Regions from separate parts of the Homo sapiens genome. Here region 2 is linked to region 1. The links are contacts of gene promoters, found by promoter capture Hi-C in human tissues and cell types (Jung and others, 2019). All regions are on one chromosome and are shown on one strand. The core of a region is centred on a gene start or on the middle of the fragment in contact, and the rest is flanking DNA. Distances in the headings are between cores, read along the strand shown.

Region 1 (7,403 bases), core at 2,179-4,678:
TGAAACCTCCTCTCTACTAAAAATACAAAAATTATCCGGGCGTGGTGGCGGACACCTGTAATCCCAGCTACTTGGGAGGATGAGGAAGGAGAGTTGCTTGAACTCAGGAGGCAGAGGTTGCAGTGAGCTGAGATGATGCCACTGCACTCCAGCCTGGGCGACAGTGAGACTCTGTCTCAAAAAAAAAAAAAAAAAAAAAAAAAAGATATGATTTCATTTACCACCCAAATCAACTCACATACAACTCACAGCAAAGAGGAAACAGGAAAACATGTACCTTAAGTCCTTACTCCCCCAGTTACCAGGTCCTGAACATCAGGGACAATGGCTATGACCCTCGAGGCATGCAGCCCTGCCAAACATCACATGCTCATTTTATCTCCAGACACATCTCCTAGAATAAAATGGGAAGCTGTTGTACCCATCCTTGACCCTCAGGTGACTACTTTTAAAGGTGCTCTCCACCGGGCAGAAAGAGCATCAGGATCAGGGCAGAAACCTAATTCCGACCAAGCTTTAGGGTTCCGAGTCTGAGAGCAACTTCCCATCCTTTTTCTGAGACTGAAGCTGCTGTCAACACTGCCCAATAAACACTCGCAGGACACAGCTAAGGAAGACAGAAAAGTGAGAGGCAAATGGGGATGCTGACTTTGCATCTTCATGTTCCAACCTGAGTATCACCTGTGCTTTTGTGTTTGTGTGGATCTGTAGGGACGGTACCAAGATCTCTAAGTCAGGTGCAATATCAGGAGATCTGCACATTTACTAAGGGGAAGGGGAAGGGAGAAAAAAAACCGTCTCAGACTCAACAATAAACCTAGGAATGAAAAGATCCAAAGCAAAGGAGCAGCAAGGCTGGAAAAGCTCCGGCGGCAGAGCAGGACCCGAGTCACCAGCACATCACACTCCTCTGACCCATTTATTGATTTATTTGAGATGAGCTCTTGCTCTGTCCCCCAGGCTGGAGGGCAGTGGCACATTCATGTGTCACTGCAACATCAACCTCCCATTCCACTGCGCCCAGCTTATTCCATTCTAATGGCTGTGCACACCGTTTAAATACTGACCACAGAGGTGTTACTGTTTTATTAGGTATCTGCCCTAAGTGTGCCAAGCCTTTTATTTGAGGATCCAATGAATATCACTTAGTGGAAAGGAAGTAAAAGATAATTACAACACAACAATAAATTATTACCACAGAGGGGAGCAGAGAGCACCGCAAGACCAAAGGTGAGAATCTAACCAATGGCAGAAGTCACAAGTGAAAAAAGAGCTCAACCATGAGATCAAGAGGCTCACTGGGGGCCAGACATAGTGGCTCATGTCTGTGATCCCAGCACTGTGGGAGGCTGAGGCAGGAGGATCACTTGAGCCCAGAAGTTGGGAGACCAGCCTGGGCAACACAGTGAGACCCCGACTCTACAAAAAGTACAAACATTAGCCAGGTGTGGTGGTACACACCTGTGGTCCCAGCTACCCAGGACAGCTTGGCTTGAGCCCAGGAGGTCAAGGCTGCAATAAGTCAGGATCACACCACTGCCCTCCAGCCGAGGCAAGAAAGCAAGACCCTGCCTCAAAAAAAAAAAAGGATCATTGGGAACATGGAGGCCTGAAGGATGAGTAGGCATCAGTCAGGGAAAGGAGAGAAGGGAATTTGAGGCAGGAAGCAAAGACCTCAAGAACTCTGATGAGTCCATACTTACTACTGAAAATAACCAATCTCTGCCTAGAGAATAGAGGTGGAGAAAGAGGCAGACTGGACTAGAGTAGAATTCCACCAGGCCCTGACCAGCTGCTTCACTGACCACATCCATCATCTCATCTCACCTCATCCTCACCATAAGCCTGAGAGGCAGGCAGGACAGTGGGAAATGCAAGGCATAGGGCAAACAGCCTGATAGTACCAGGGCAAGCCCAAGTGTCCCATCCACCCAAACTGTGGCCACGAGTCTTGATTCTACTTCCGTTCTACAAGTGGGTCCGGGAATGCATGCAAATGGAGGAGAGAGAAGAGACGCACCGCTCTCCCACAGACTGATACGTCATGGAGGAGAGAGAGATGCAACCAATTCCCAGAGACTGACATGTCAGTATCCAGGGAATGAGGGTTCTGAAGAACACCCCAGGCCAGCAGACAGACCCTAGGTGAGCCTGGCAATCTCCCCACCCAGTGTCCATGCCTCCTTGTAGCCACCTTGCCCGGAGTGCAAGGCGGGTGGGACCTGTGACGTGCTTCTAACCCACAGAATGTGGTGAAAACAATGGAATGGCTTTCCCTTGACTGGGTTGCATTAGGTGGCAAAGTTGCTGCGCTGTCACTCCCATGACTACATTATGTTACGTAAGACTTAGTCTACTGAAGCAGAAGACTCTTTGCTGTTTTGAAGTGAGCTGCCAAGCTGCAAGGGGCCATGCGCCAAGCAAGTACAGGGGGCCTCTAAGAGTCAAGAGGAGACCTCAAGGGACAGTCAACAAGAAAACAAAGACTTGCGTCCCACAATCAGCAAGAGATAACTTCTGCCACAACCTGAAAGAGCTCAAAAGCACACCATCCCCCACTCGAGCCTCTGATAAGATCACAGTCCCACCCAACACCTAGATTGCAACCGGATGAAACCCTGAGCAGAGGATCCCACTAAGCTGTGCCCAGACTTCCAACCCACAGAAACTGTGAGATAATAAATGTGTTGTGTGTCAATTTGTTACACAGCAGTAGAAAATAAATACACTGGCCTGGCATGGTGACTCATGCCTGTAATCCCAGCACTATGGGAGGCCAAGGTGGAAGGAATGACTGAGCCCAGGACCTTGAGACCAGCCTGGGCAACATGGTGAGACCCTGTCTCTACCTTATGTAAAAAAAAAAAAAAAAATTTAAGACCAGAAATATACCCCCACACATCATCCCATTTGAAAGAAAAGCTTTCATCCATGCTACTTCCTTCCATGCACAAATAATGACTGGTTGCCAGAAAGGCAGCACAGGTCACTCTTCAGAACTCCAAATGCTCTTTCCAACCTACCACCAACACACATGATGCCAACCCCACTGAGACCAAGGCAGCCTCCCAAGCTCAGAGAGACTCCGAGACCAAGTTCTTCATAACTGAACTCACAGCTTCAATTATTTCATACTCAATCACTATATTCCAAGTTTTTTATAATTAACAAAATGCTGCCTTCAAGGTTACATATGCCACCAACGTCAATCCTCAGAACACTGCATAACATCCCAAAACTTACACATGTATCATCCAAATAAAAAAATAAAATGTAAGTTAAATCTTCAAACGCAAATTTGTGCTGATGATCTAGAAGGAAAGCTGGGCCCTGCCTGGCCGGGAGCTGCCTCCTTTCTTCCCCAGCTTTGTGCAGGGCCACCCCTGCCCTCTCCTCACCCCTGCTGGTGCAGTGAGATGAGGACCTCAAGTAAGGGGGTGGCAGCCGGGACTTCCACAATTCAGGGCAATCTCTGGCATCTGTTGTTCAGTCAGTAATTTTCCAACAGACCCTCTTGACTGTGACGGGCAGAGAAAGGCTGGGGAGCTCTTGGGTCGTCAGTGGGTTGGAGAGATGGACTAACTCACAGGTAGGAAAAAAGGCAATGACCACTCCACTGGAGAACAAAGCCCACAGCATTTAAGCTGGAGGGACAAGAAAATCCAATCATTCTGATGATGCAGCTCCTGAGGCTCCGTGGCCAAGCTGGGATGTGAAAGAAGACAATTCCATTCCCCTCCCTCATCACCAGGTGACTGCTGCCTCCCAGAGAGCTCCCTCATGAAAGCCCCGTAACCCACCACGCTGCACTGTTTCTATAGCAACCAGAAAGAAAATATAAAGCAAGCAGTTTCACATGAAAATTATTCTCTATTAAAATGAAATATTGCAGTCAGGAAAAGAATTTTGATAAAGAACTAGGTAGAAGACATCGGTAACATTAATGCTAATTATTTATTCACTACCCACACAAAAGATAATTTTTCCTAAAATTTTAAGATAATCTTTTATCGTTCACACTGGAAGTCTGAAAACAGTACTACAGCAAGTCAACAACAAACAATTACAATCAAAATTCTGTTCTATGCTGTGATATCTCCACGAAACACAAAATGCTCTCCCAAGTTTAAAGAGGGATAAGGAACACGAAAACAACTGACCCCGGCCAGGTGCGGGGGCTCACACCTGGAATCCCAGCATTTTGGGAAGCCAAGGTGGGTGGATCAATTGAGGTGAGGAGTTCAAGACCAGCCTGGCCAACATGGTGAAACCCTGTCTCTACTAAAAAAATTTAAAAATTAACCAGGCGTGGTGGTGGGCACCTGTAGTCCCAGCTACTTGGGAGGCTGAGGCAGATGAAGTGCTTGAAACCGGGAGGTGGAGGTTGCAGGGAGCCAAGATCACGCCACTGCACTCCAGCCTGAGTGATAGAGCGAGACTGTGTCTCAAAAAAAAAAAAAAAGAAAAAGAAAACAACTGAGCCAAACAATGGAGAAAACACAGAAAATATGCAAATTATGAGAACAAAAAAAATTCAGCCAATGCCTTCTCACATCAAAATACCAAAACTACAAAGCCAATTTCAGGTATACCAACCCATTCTCAAAAGATGAAATCAAATTCAAATGAACCTATCTTTGCCTATCTTTGACATCCCTAAAGCCACCTGTGACTTGTCACAGCCTTAATAACCCACCACAATCGGGATGGTCATATGTCCCCTGAAGTCACAGAAACAGAACTCTCAACTAGCAGACTGTTAACGTGTCCTATTATCCTCAGGTTCTTGGGTTATTCGTAGAATAGCAAAGCAAACTACCTGCTTTGTAACGATATCATTTACACATCAACATCAGGAATAAATACAAACCAAAACCTGGCCAAACCAGGAGAGGTGCCTGGACCAGGACAGGCAGACCCAACGCCTACGCTTGCTTCTAACCAGCCTGGGCAGGTGGGCAGGTTACAACACACTCCTGACTCAGCCAGGTGGGGCTCTGCAGCCTGGCAGTTACAGACACTGAGACCTCAAGCCGCAGGCACTAGCCTGCCAAAAAAGACTTCTCCTCCTTGGTCTCACAGCCAACAGTTTGGACACATATCCTAGAGGTATACTACACTTCCAGCAAAGAGATGGGGGCCCAAGGCCCACCCCAAACCACTTCATCCTCCCCTCACCACACTCTGAATCTGGTTCTCTCAGAGGCATGATGAGAGCTGGGGTGGAGAGGTGTGGAAAAGACACAGTCCTGACTTCAGAGTCCCTCTGGGCAGACTCATCTCACAGTATCGCGTAACACACAACACACGTTTATACACGGGCACAGACTGGAACACATGATATGGTAACAATCTATAATACGAGGAGCTCGTTAAGCTCAGAGATGAAAGGGGAAGTGAGTGGAAGACCACACCGTGAGCATCTATTAATAAAAGCAGACGGAGTAAGAAACAGAGAAAAAGGTTCTCCTTTGGTCTTGTCTTTCTTTGTCTACTATTTAAAACACGAGAGAATTAGCTAGTTAAATTTATATCTCAGAAAACAGGCACAATAGAAGTATAAAAGCCATCACCTTTAAGTCATTTCCCCTTTTTTTTTTTTTTTGGAGACAGAGTCTCACTCTGGTGCCCAAGCTGGAGTGCAGTGGCGCCATCTCGGCTCACTGCAACCTCCACCTCCCATGTTCAAGCGATTCTCCTGCCTCAGCCTCCTCAGTAGCTGGGATGACAGGCATGGGCCACCACGCGTAATTTCTTTTTTTTCTCTCTGAGATGGCGTCTCACTCTGTCACCCAGGCTGGAGTGCAGTGGTGCGATTCTGGCTCACTGCAACCTCCACCTCCTGGGTTCAACCGATTCTCCTGCCTCACCCTCCCGAGTAGCTGAGATTACAGGCGCCTGCCACCACGCCCAGCTAATTTTTTGTATTTTTAGAAGAGACAGGGTTTCACCATGTGGCCCAGGCTGGTCGCGAACTCCTGACCTCAGGTGATCCACCCGCTTCAGCCTCCCAAAGTGCTGGGATTACAGGTGTGAGCCACTGGGCCCGGCAGTATTTAGCATTTTAATAATAAAAATATTGGAGAGGCCGGGCGCGGTGGCTCATGCCTGTAATCCCAGCACTTTGGGAGGCTGAGCAGGTACATCACCTGAGGTCAGGAGTTCAAGACCAGCCTGGCCAACATGGTGAAACCCCAACTCTACTAAAAATTCAAAAATCAGCCAGGTGTGGTGGCAGGCAGGAGAACTGCTTGAATGCAGGAGAACTGCTTGAACGCAGGAGGCGAAGGTTTCAGTGAGCCAAGATCACGCCACTGCACTCCAGTCTGGGGACAGAGCAAGACTCCATCTCAAAAATAATAACAAAAAATTAAAAAATCAGACCTAATATTTGTTTCTTGGTATGTATTCTTTCTATTCCAATTTATTATGGCTTCAAAAGAAGCCCAAAAAATCAAAAAAGAAAAATAAAACAATGGCTTAATGAGAGGAGCGCTTAATAAACTGAAATTTTGTTTAACACTTTCAGGAACAGTTCCCAACGTTGTTGTCAGGGCACAGTGACAGTGGCCCAGCTGCCTCGCCAGCAGCACACACAGGCCTCTGGGGCCAGCAGAGAAACACTCCCAGTGCCTTCAAGAACCCCATTTTCACATCCAGGGTCCAGGAAACAGACATGCACGTCGGACTATCACCCTAGTGAGAAAGAAGGAAAGCCACATTGGGGTTGGTTTTTTTTTTAACGTCCTTCAAATCTATGGAAGACATCCTCTTCTACACAACTCATAGGAAAAAAGATCCCTCTGAGGTTAAGCAACCCGACGCCTCCACACCACAACTGAACATCCTCCTACAGCCCCCACCCGGTAACTCATTACTTTCCAAAGAGAATGGGTCTCAAGGTCTCAAGGACCCACTGCCCTCCAAAAAAGCAACCTGGACATCCTGCTGACAACTGAGCATCATACAAATGTGTCCCTTTCGTCCCCGCTGCCCTCCAACAGTCACCCCCCAGAGCGAAGCTGCCTGTACAGGCCACGTCCTCTCCTCCAGCAGCCGGCTACGCGCAGCTCTCCGGCACAGCCATCACCTGCACCACTAAAGCGGGTGGCAGTTTCTGCCCGTGACATTTCTCATTAGGACTTTCCACAATTCTTGAGGCTTAATGCAAATTCCTTATTCCCATGACTAACATCAAAGAACCACACCTCCAAAGACTGACACTGGGATTATTCCTAAATTTCTCAAGGATGAGGTAATCTGGAGGTTAAACATGCCTGAACTGAGCTGTCCTCACTTGGGCCCTCCAGACCTTTCACTTGTTGGGTGTGTAAATAATGACCCAACACTTTTTCTTTTCTTTTTTGAGATGTTCTCACTCTGTCACCGGGGCTAGAGACCAG
Region 2 (7,403 bases), core at 625-3,124, 340 kb after region 1:
TCTACTAAAAATACAAAAATTAGGAGGGCATGGTGGCGCGTGCCTGTAGTCCCAGCCACTCGGGAGGCTGAGACGGGAGAATCACTTAAACCCGGGAGGTGGAGGCTGCAGTGAGCCGAGATCACCCCACTGCATACCAGCCCAGGCTACAGTGTGAGACTTTGTCTCAAAAAAAATAAATGAAAATAAAAAATAAAAATAAAAAAAATTCAAGATCTGTGCATAAACACAACCTGTGTGTAAGTAATGCTTCCCTACTGGGCTATTTTCCTTTTTTTCTTTTTTGAGAGGGAGTCTCACTGTCGTCCAGGCTGGAGTGCAATGGCGGGATCTCACTCACGGCGACCTCCACCTCCCAGGTTCAAGCGATTCTCCTGCCTCAGCCTCCTGAGCAGCTGGGATTACAGACACCTGCTACCATACCCGGCTAATTTTTGTATTTTAAGTAGTGACGGGGTTTCACCATGTTGGTCAGGCTGGTCTCGAACTCCTAACCTCAAGTGATCTACCCACTTCGGCCTCCCAAAGGGCTAGGATTACAGGCGTGAGCCACCACGCCCGGCTTTTTTTTTTTTTTTTTTTTTTTTTTTTTTTGTGAGACAGTCTCACTCTGTAATCCAGACTGGATTGCAAGGGGCGTGATCTCGGCTCACTGCAATTTCTGCCTCCCGGGTCCAGGTTCAAGCAATTCTCCTGCCTCAGGCTCCCGAGTAGCTGGGATTAAAGGCGTGCGCCACCACACCCAGCTAATTTTTGTATTTTCAGTAGAGACCGGGTTTCACTATGTTGGCCAGGCTGGTCTCGAACTCCTGACCCTGAGTGATCCACCCGCCTTGGCCTCCCCAAAAGCTGGGATTACAGCCCTGAGCCACGGCGCCCGGCCTGTTTTTTTGTTGTTGTTGTTTTGTTTTTAATAAAAGAGGCGGGGTCTCACCCCGTTGCCCAGGTTGGTCCAGAACTCCCGGGCTCAGGCGACCCTCCCCTCTGCGGGCCAGGCCACCGCGCCCGCCGCCTCGGGTGTTTTCTTAGGAAAGCTGTGCGGTGGCTGGACTCAAAAACCCCGAACCTAAATCTGCCCGCAGACGGACACCAGCTTCCTCTTACCTCAAGCAAAAGGGCATTCAGGTCCTGATGGCTTCGCAGGAGGCGCACAGCTGATTCCTTTAATTTCTGTGCCCTTTCAGGATTATATTTTTCCCTCTTGACCCTTCCCGCTACGGAGAGAAGTCGGTTCGAAACCATCACAGCACAATTCACACACGGGGTCCCCGGCCCGACGCGCAGGTGGACGCCGCGGAGAAACCCACCAGCGACACCCTCCCGAAGAGGGGCCGGGGCTCCTCCCCAGGGCGCAGGTCTCGGGAAACTAACGGAGACGGCCCCACCGCGGACGCCGGGGAAGACGGCCCAGGAGGGCCCGAGGCAGGGGAGCCCGGGGACGGCTGGCGAGGGGCGGCCTCTGCGCTGAGGGGAGCCCCAGGCCGCGCACCCCAGGCCCGCCTGACAGGGCGGCCGGCGGGGGCGGCGTTCGGGAAAGAAGGGAGCGCCCCGCGGGCGGCGGCTGGGGGCGTCCGCCCAGGCGCAGGAGGGGCCGGGTCCGAGGCAGCCGCGCCGCCCCAGCCGGGCGCCCACCCCGCACAGCCCCCCGGGCGCGGCGTCCGGGGATCCGACCGGCGGAGGCTCTGGCGGGAAGGGATCGGGGAACCGGCGAAACCGTCCCGGGCCGGACGCCGCCCACTCCCGCGGCCTGCCGCGCCCACCTACCCAGCAGCTCGGCCCAGGCCCTCCGGCGGCCCCCTGGGTCCTGGCCCGAGGCGGAGTTCGGGACCCACGAGTCGGACATGGCCTTGGCGCCTACAGCCCCGGCGGCGGCTCCCTGCGCCCGAGCCCGCGCTGCCTTCCTATTGGCTGCGGCCAGGCGCGCACACCCGTTGGCTGGCGGCGGCCAGGCCACGCCCCTCAGGTCGAGGCCTTGCGTCGTGGCCATGTTGGTCCTGGGGGAGGCGCCTGCGCGCGGTGAGGTAGTTTTTGCGTTTGGCTTTGCCGCCGCGGTGTAGTCCGCGGGGGCGTCTCGCGCGGGCAGACTGCCGCCCCTCAAGCGTGGTTCCTGCCGGGAATGACTGGGGTTGGTCCTGAAGAGACCACCTGGCCAACCAAGCCGAGGCAGGCTCAGAGCGCCGCGGGGAGCGCAAAGCCGCGCGCGCCTCTGAGCTCCGGGCAGCCGCTGTTCCTCCCGGCGGCCGAACGGTCCGCGCGCAGGGCGGTGTTTCGGCAGCCGGAGACCGCGCGGTAGCCGCGCCTGTATTCCCAGCGCTTTGGGAGGCCGAGGCTGGAGGGTCGCTTGAGCCCAGGAATTCCAGACTAGCCTGGGCAACAGAGCGAGACCCCATCACTTTTGTTTCTTTTCTTTTTTTTTTTTTTCCTTTTTTTGAGACGGAGTCTCCCTCTGTCGCCCAGGCTGGAGTGCAGTGGCGCGATCTCGGCTCACTGCAACGTCTGCCTCCTGGGTTCAGGTGATTCTCCTGCCTCAGCCTCCCGAGTAGCTGGGATTGCAGGTGCGCGCCACCACGCCTGGATGATTTTTGTTATTTTTAGTAGAGACAGCGTTTCGCCATGTTGGCCCAGGCTAGTCTCGAACTCCGGACCTCAGGTGATCCGCCCGCCTCGGCCTCCCAAAGTGCTGGGATTACAGGCGTGAGCCACCGCACCCGGCTGAGACCCTATCTTTTAACCAGCCTGGGCGGCAGAGCGAGACTCTGTCTCAAAACAAAACCAAACATAAGAATTCGTAAAAGCGAGTGCCTAGGCGAAGCTAATGTGCCTCAAAGTCCTGGGTAAGTAGAGGCCCTGGAGACCCGTCCGCATCCTCTGGCAGTGGCCTTGGAACCACCGAAGGGATTCAGCCGAAGGGCCGCGTTCCCGGCAGGCGTCTTTATTGTGTTGATTACGTAGATGGCGTAGATGACGTAGATGACGTTCAGCACCACAAACGAAGAGCCGAGGCACAGAGTGGGGCCTTGGATTCATGAGATGGGGATGGAGCAGAAATGAGAATTCGGAGTCCATGAAACCCCCACAAAGACTCCTGCACGGCCCGACTCGGACACTTTGCAATCTGCTGGTTGAGGGGGATGGTGTGAACTCAGGGAACAGCCTGAGATCGCGCCGCTGCACTCCAGCCTGGGCAACAGAGCAAGACCCTGTTTCAAAAACAAAAAATAACACTAAGCAATTAACAGGACTAGACTCAGAGGTGATCGAGAAATTGAAACAGGCTGGAAATTTAAATTAACTGTGATTAATATGTGGAGGTCTCTTGTACGAAAGGTGAACAATATGCATGAGGAGGAAACTCATCAAATTATAAGAAAGGAAGAACGCTGATAACAGGTAATTTTTCTGATGGGGCAGCAGTAGGATCAACACAGCTGAGAAAAATAGGAATTACCCACGTTGGAAAATAAAGAAGAAAAAAAGTTTTTTTTTAAAAAAAGCATCCAAGAACTGTGGGAAAATATCAAATGATATCATATGCATGTAATAGGACTCCCAAAAGAAGAAGAAAGAACAAATCATAAAAAATGTTTGAAGAGAAAATTACCAATAATTTTCCCAAAATAATGAAAGACCTGAGCTCAGAGCACACACAAAACTTGATAAATATGAGCCCCTGCCTGACACATGCAGTGTATTCAAACTGTGGAAATCAGAGAGAAAACCATGAAGATGGCCGGAGGAAAAAGATACGTTAAATACAGTAACAAAGGTAAGAATTCCAGCCTGGGCAATATGGCAAGACCTCGTCTCTACAAAAAATACAAAATTTTTTTTTTGTATTTTTTGTATTGCCCAGTGTGGTGACACGAGCCTGTAGTCCTGTGGGCGGAGAATTACCCAGGTGCCGAGGCAAGAGACCGAAGGCACAAACTATTTCAGTATAATAAAATCGTTACAATAAGAACAGTCATAATACAAATTATGGAGATGATCATGGACAATTATCAATTATTATAAACATTAATCATTAGCTTTTAATATTACTGTTTGTTGCATTACTAATATAACCTAGGAATAACCGGTGGGTATAGGGTCAGGTGCTGAAAGGACATTGTGAGAAGTGAGTGGAAGGCAAGAGGTGAACCTTCTGTCATGCCCGCATAAGGGCCGCTTGAGGGCTCCTTGGTCAAGCGGTAACGCCAGTGTCTGGGAAGGCACCCGTTACTTAGCAGACCATGAAAGGGAGTCTCCTTTGCTTGGAGGAGTCAGGGAACACTCTGCTCCACCAGCTTCTTGTGGGAGGCTGGATGTTATCCAGGCCTGCACGCAGTCATCCGGAGGCCTAAACCCCTCCCTGTGGTGCTTCACTGGTCACGCTCCTTGTCCACTTTCATGTTCCTCCCTTACTTCTGGTTCGTCTTTGAAGTTCGTAGTAGATAGCGGTAGAAGAAATAGTGAAAGTCTTAAAGTCTTTGATCTTTCTTATAAGTGCAGAGAAGAAAATGCTGACGTATGCTGCCTTCTTTCTCTGCTTCACCTACCTGAAAGGGAAGGGCCCCCATCCTGTAATCACGTGACATGCTTCACCTTGTCAATCACTTAGAAGATTCACCTTCCTTACGCTGCCCCCTTGTCATGTATGCAATAGATATCAAAGAGCCTAGCCGTTCGGGGCCGCTACCAGTCTCCGCGTCTTGATGGTAGTGGTCCCCGGGGCCCAGCTGTTTTCTCTTTATTTCTTGGTCTTGTGTCTTTATTTATTACAATCTCTCTTCTCCGTACATGGGGAGAACACCCACTAAGCCCCATAGGGCTGGACCCTACATAGTCCCAGCTACTTGGGAGGCTGAGGTGAGAGGATCACTTGAGCCCAGGAGGCTGAGGCTGCAGGGAGCCACCATCACGCCACTGCACTCCAGCCTGGATGACAGAGTGACACCCTGTCTCAAAAAAAAAAAAAAGGCAGGGGTGCTGGGCACGGTGTCTCACACTTGTAATCCCAGCATTTTGGGGGGCCGAGGCCGGTGGATCACCTGAGGTCAGGAGTTTGAGACTAGCCTGGCCAACATGGTGAAATCTCATCTCTACTAAAAACACAAAAATTGGCCAGGTGTGGTGGCTCATGCCTGTAATCCCAGCACTTTGGGAGGCCAAGGCAGGCAGATCACCTGAGGTCAGGAGTTCAAGACCAGCCTGACGAACATGGAGAAACCCCGTCTCTACTAAAAATACAAAATCAGCCAGGTGTGGTGGTGCATGCCTGTAATCCCAGCTACTCGGGAGGCTGAGGCAGGAGAATCGCCTGAACCCAGGAGGCGAAGGTTGCAGTAAACCAAGATTGCGCCACTGCACTCCAGCCTGGGCAACTAGAGCAAAACTCTTGTCTTGGCCCGGCGCAGTGGCTCACGCCTGTAATCCCAGCACTTTGGGAGGCTGAGGCAGGCGGGTCACCTGAGAGCAGGAGTTCGAGACCAGCTTGGACAACATGGTGAAACCCCATCTCTACCAAAACTACAAAAATTAGCCGGGTGTGGTGGCAGGTGCATGTAATTCCAGCTACTCAGGAGGCTGAGGCGGGAGATTTGCTTGAACCCAGGAGGCGGAGCTTGCAGTGAGCTGAGATCGTGCCACTGCACTCCAGCCTGGGTGACAGAGCGACACTCCGTCTCAAAAAAAAGATAATTTTCTGTCTAGGACAAGTGGGGTGGCTCATGACTGTAATCCCAGCGCTTTGGGAGGCTGAGGTGGGTAGATCACCTGAGGTCAGGAGTTCGAATTTGGCCTGGCCAACATGGTGAAACCACATCTCTACTAAAAATACAAAATTAGCCGGGCGTGGTGACCAGTGCCTGTAATCGCAGCTACTTGGGAGGCTGAGGCTGGAGAATCACTTGAACCCAGGAGATGTAGGTTGCAGTGAGCCGAGATCATGCCAACTACAGCCTGGGCGACAGATTGAGACTCTGTCTCAAAAAAAAAAAAAAAAGCGTATGGTGGCGCGCGCCTGTAATCCCAGCACTTTGGGAGGCCGAGGTGGGCAGATTACCTGAAGTCAGGAGTTTGAGACCAGCGTCCCCAACATGGAGAAACCTGGTCTCTACTAAAAATACAAAAAATGAGCCGGCTGTGGTGGTGGGCACCTGTAATCCCAGCTTCTGGGGAGGCTGAGACAGGAGAATCGCTTCAGCCTGGGAGGCAAACCTTGCAGTGAACTGAGATCATGACACTGCACTCCAGCCTGGGCGACAAGAGCAAAACTCCCTCTCGAAAAGAAAAGAAAAGAAAAGAAAAGTTCATCTGTCCTTTGATCTGGCACATCTTTTATAATGGCCTGTTCTGCCTCTGCCTTGTCACTGAGCAGTGTGGGGAGAATTATGCCCATGAGTTGTGAGGAACTTCTGCATTCTTTTTTTTTTTTTTTTTTAAGATGGAGTCTCACTCTGTTGCCCAGGCTGGACTGCAGTGGCATGATCTTGGCTCACTGCAACCACTGCCTTCCAGGTTCAAGCGATTCTCCCGCCTCAGCCTCCCGAGTAGCTGGGATTACAGGTGCCTGCCACCACGCCTGTCTAATTTTTGTATTTTTAGTAGAGACAGGGTTTTGCCATGTTGGCCAGGCTGGTCTCAAACTCCTGACCTCAGGTGATCCGCCCGCCTCGGCCTCCCAAAGTGCTGGGATTACAGGCGTGCGCCACCGCGCCTGGCCTTTTTTTTTTTTGAGACAGGGTCTCACTCTGCCACTAAGGCTAGAGTGGCGCAATCTCGTCTCACTACAACCTCCGCCTCCGCCTCCCAGGCTCTTGGTCCTCCTACCTCAGCCTCCCAAAGTGCTGGGACGACAGGTGTGAGGCGCCACGTCCAGCCTAGTTCTCTCATCTTACAACGTTCAGGCCCCTGGGCGGGCACTGGAGGTGCTTTCACCATCTGAGACGATGTTTGCTGTCACGTGGGGAGGAGCTTGTCAACCCCATGTTCACACAGGAACTAGTGTCTAAGTGACACATCTCAGCATGTCCCATTCTTGTTTTTTTTTTTTTTGAGGCACAGAGTTTCGCTCTTGTCACCCAGCCTGGAGTGCAATGGCGAGATCATGGCTCACCGCAACCTCCACCTCCCGGGTTCAAGAGATTCTCCTGTCTCAGCTTCCCGAGCAGCTGGGATTATAGCCCTGCGCCACCATGCCTGACTAATTTTGTATTTTTAGTAGAGACAGGGTTTCTCCATGTTGGTCAGGCTGGTCTCAGACTCCCAACCCCCAACCTCAGGTGATCTACCCGCCTCAACCTCCCCAAGTGCTGGGATTACAGGTGTGAGCCACCACGCCCAGCCAGGACCCATTCATTTTTAACCACCTTGCTTTATCTGTTCAAAAGAGAAACAAATTCAGCATGTGTAAATAACTCTGA

The links. The method cuts DNA at HindIII sites, captures the fragments that hold promoters and counts their contacts. A contact is called where the count stands out against the background at its distance.
Region 2: the fragment with the promoter of FANCA here is called in contact with a fragment that was not itself captured in region 1 in 1 of the 25 tissues and cell types used here (hippocampus).

The regions. Positions count from the first base shown.
Region 1 is chr16:89,471,605-89,479,007 of GRCh38, forward strand. All of the region lies in intron 1 of ANKRD11 (ankyrin repeat domain containing 11), which reads right to left. Among named protein-coding and RNA genes, the nearest start is that of ANKRD11, 15 kb to the right of the region's middle. The HindIII fragment of the contact is 6,489 bases long and covers 185-6,673 here.
Region 2 is chr16:89,814,773-89,822,175 of GRCh38, forward strand. FANCA (FA complementation group A) reads right to left here and starts at 1,875. Exons shown (of 43, transcript NM_000135.4): 1 at 1,765-1,875; 2 at 1,105-1,214. The coding sequence starts at 1,843. RefSeq lists silencers at 1,379-1,428, 1,659-1,948 and enhancers at 1,809-2,103, 2,489-2,538. The HindIII fragment of the contact is 15,845 bases long and covers 1-7,403 here.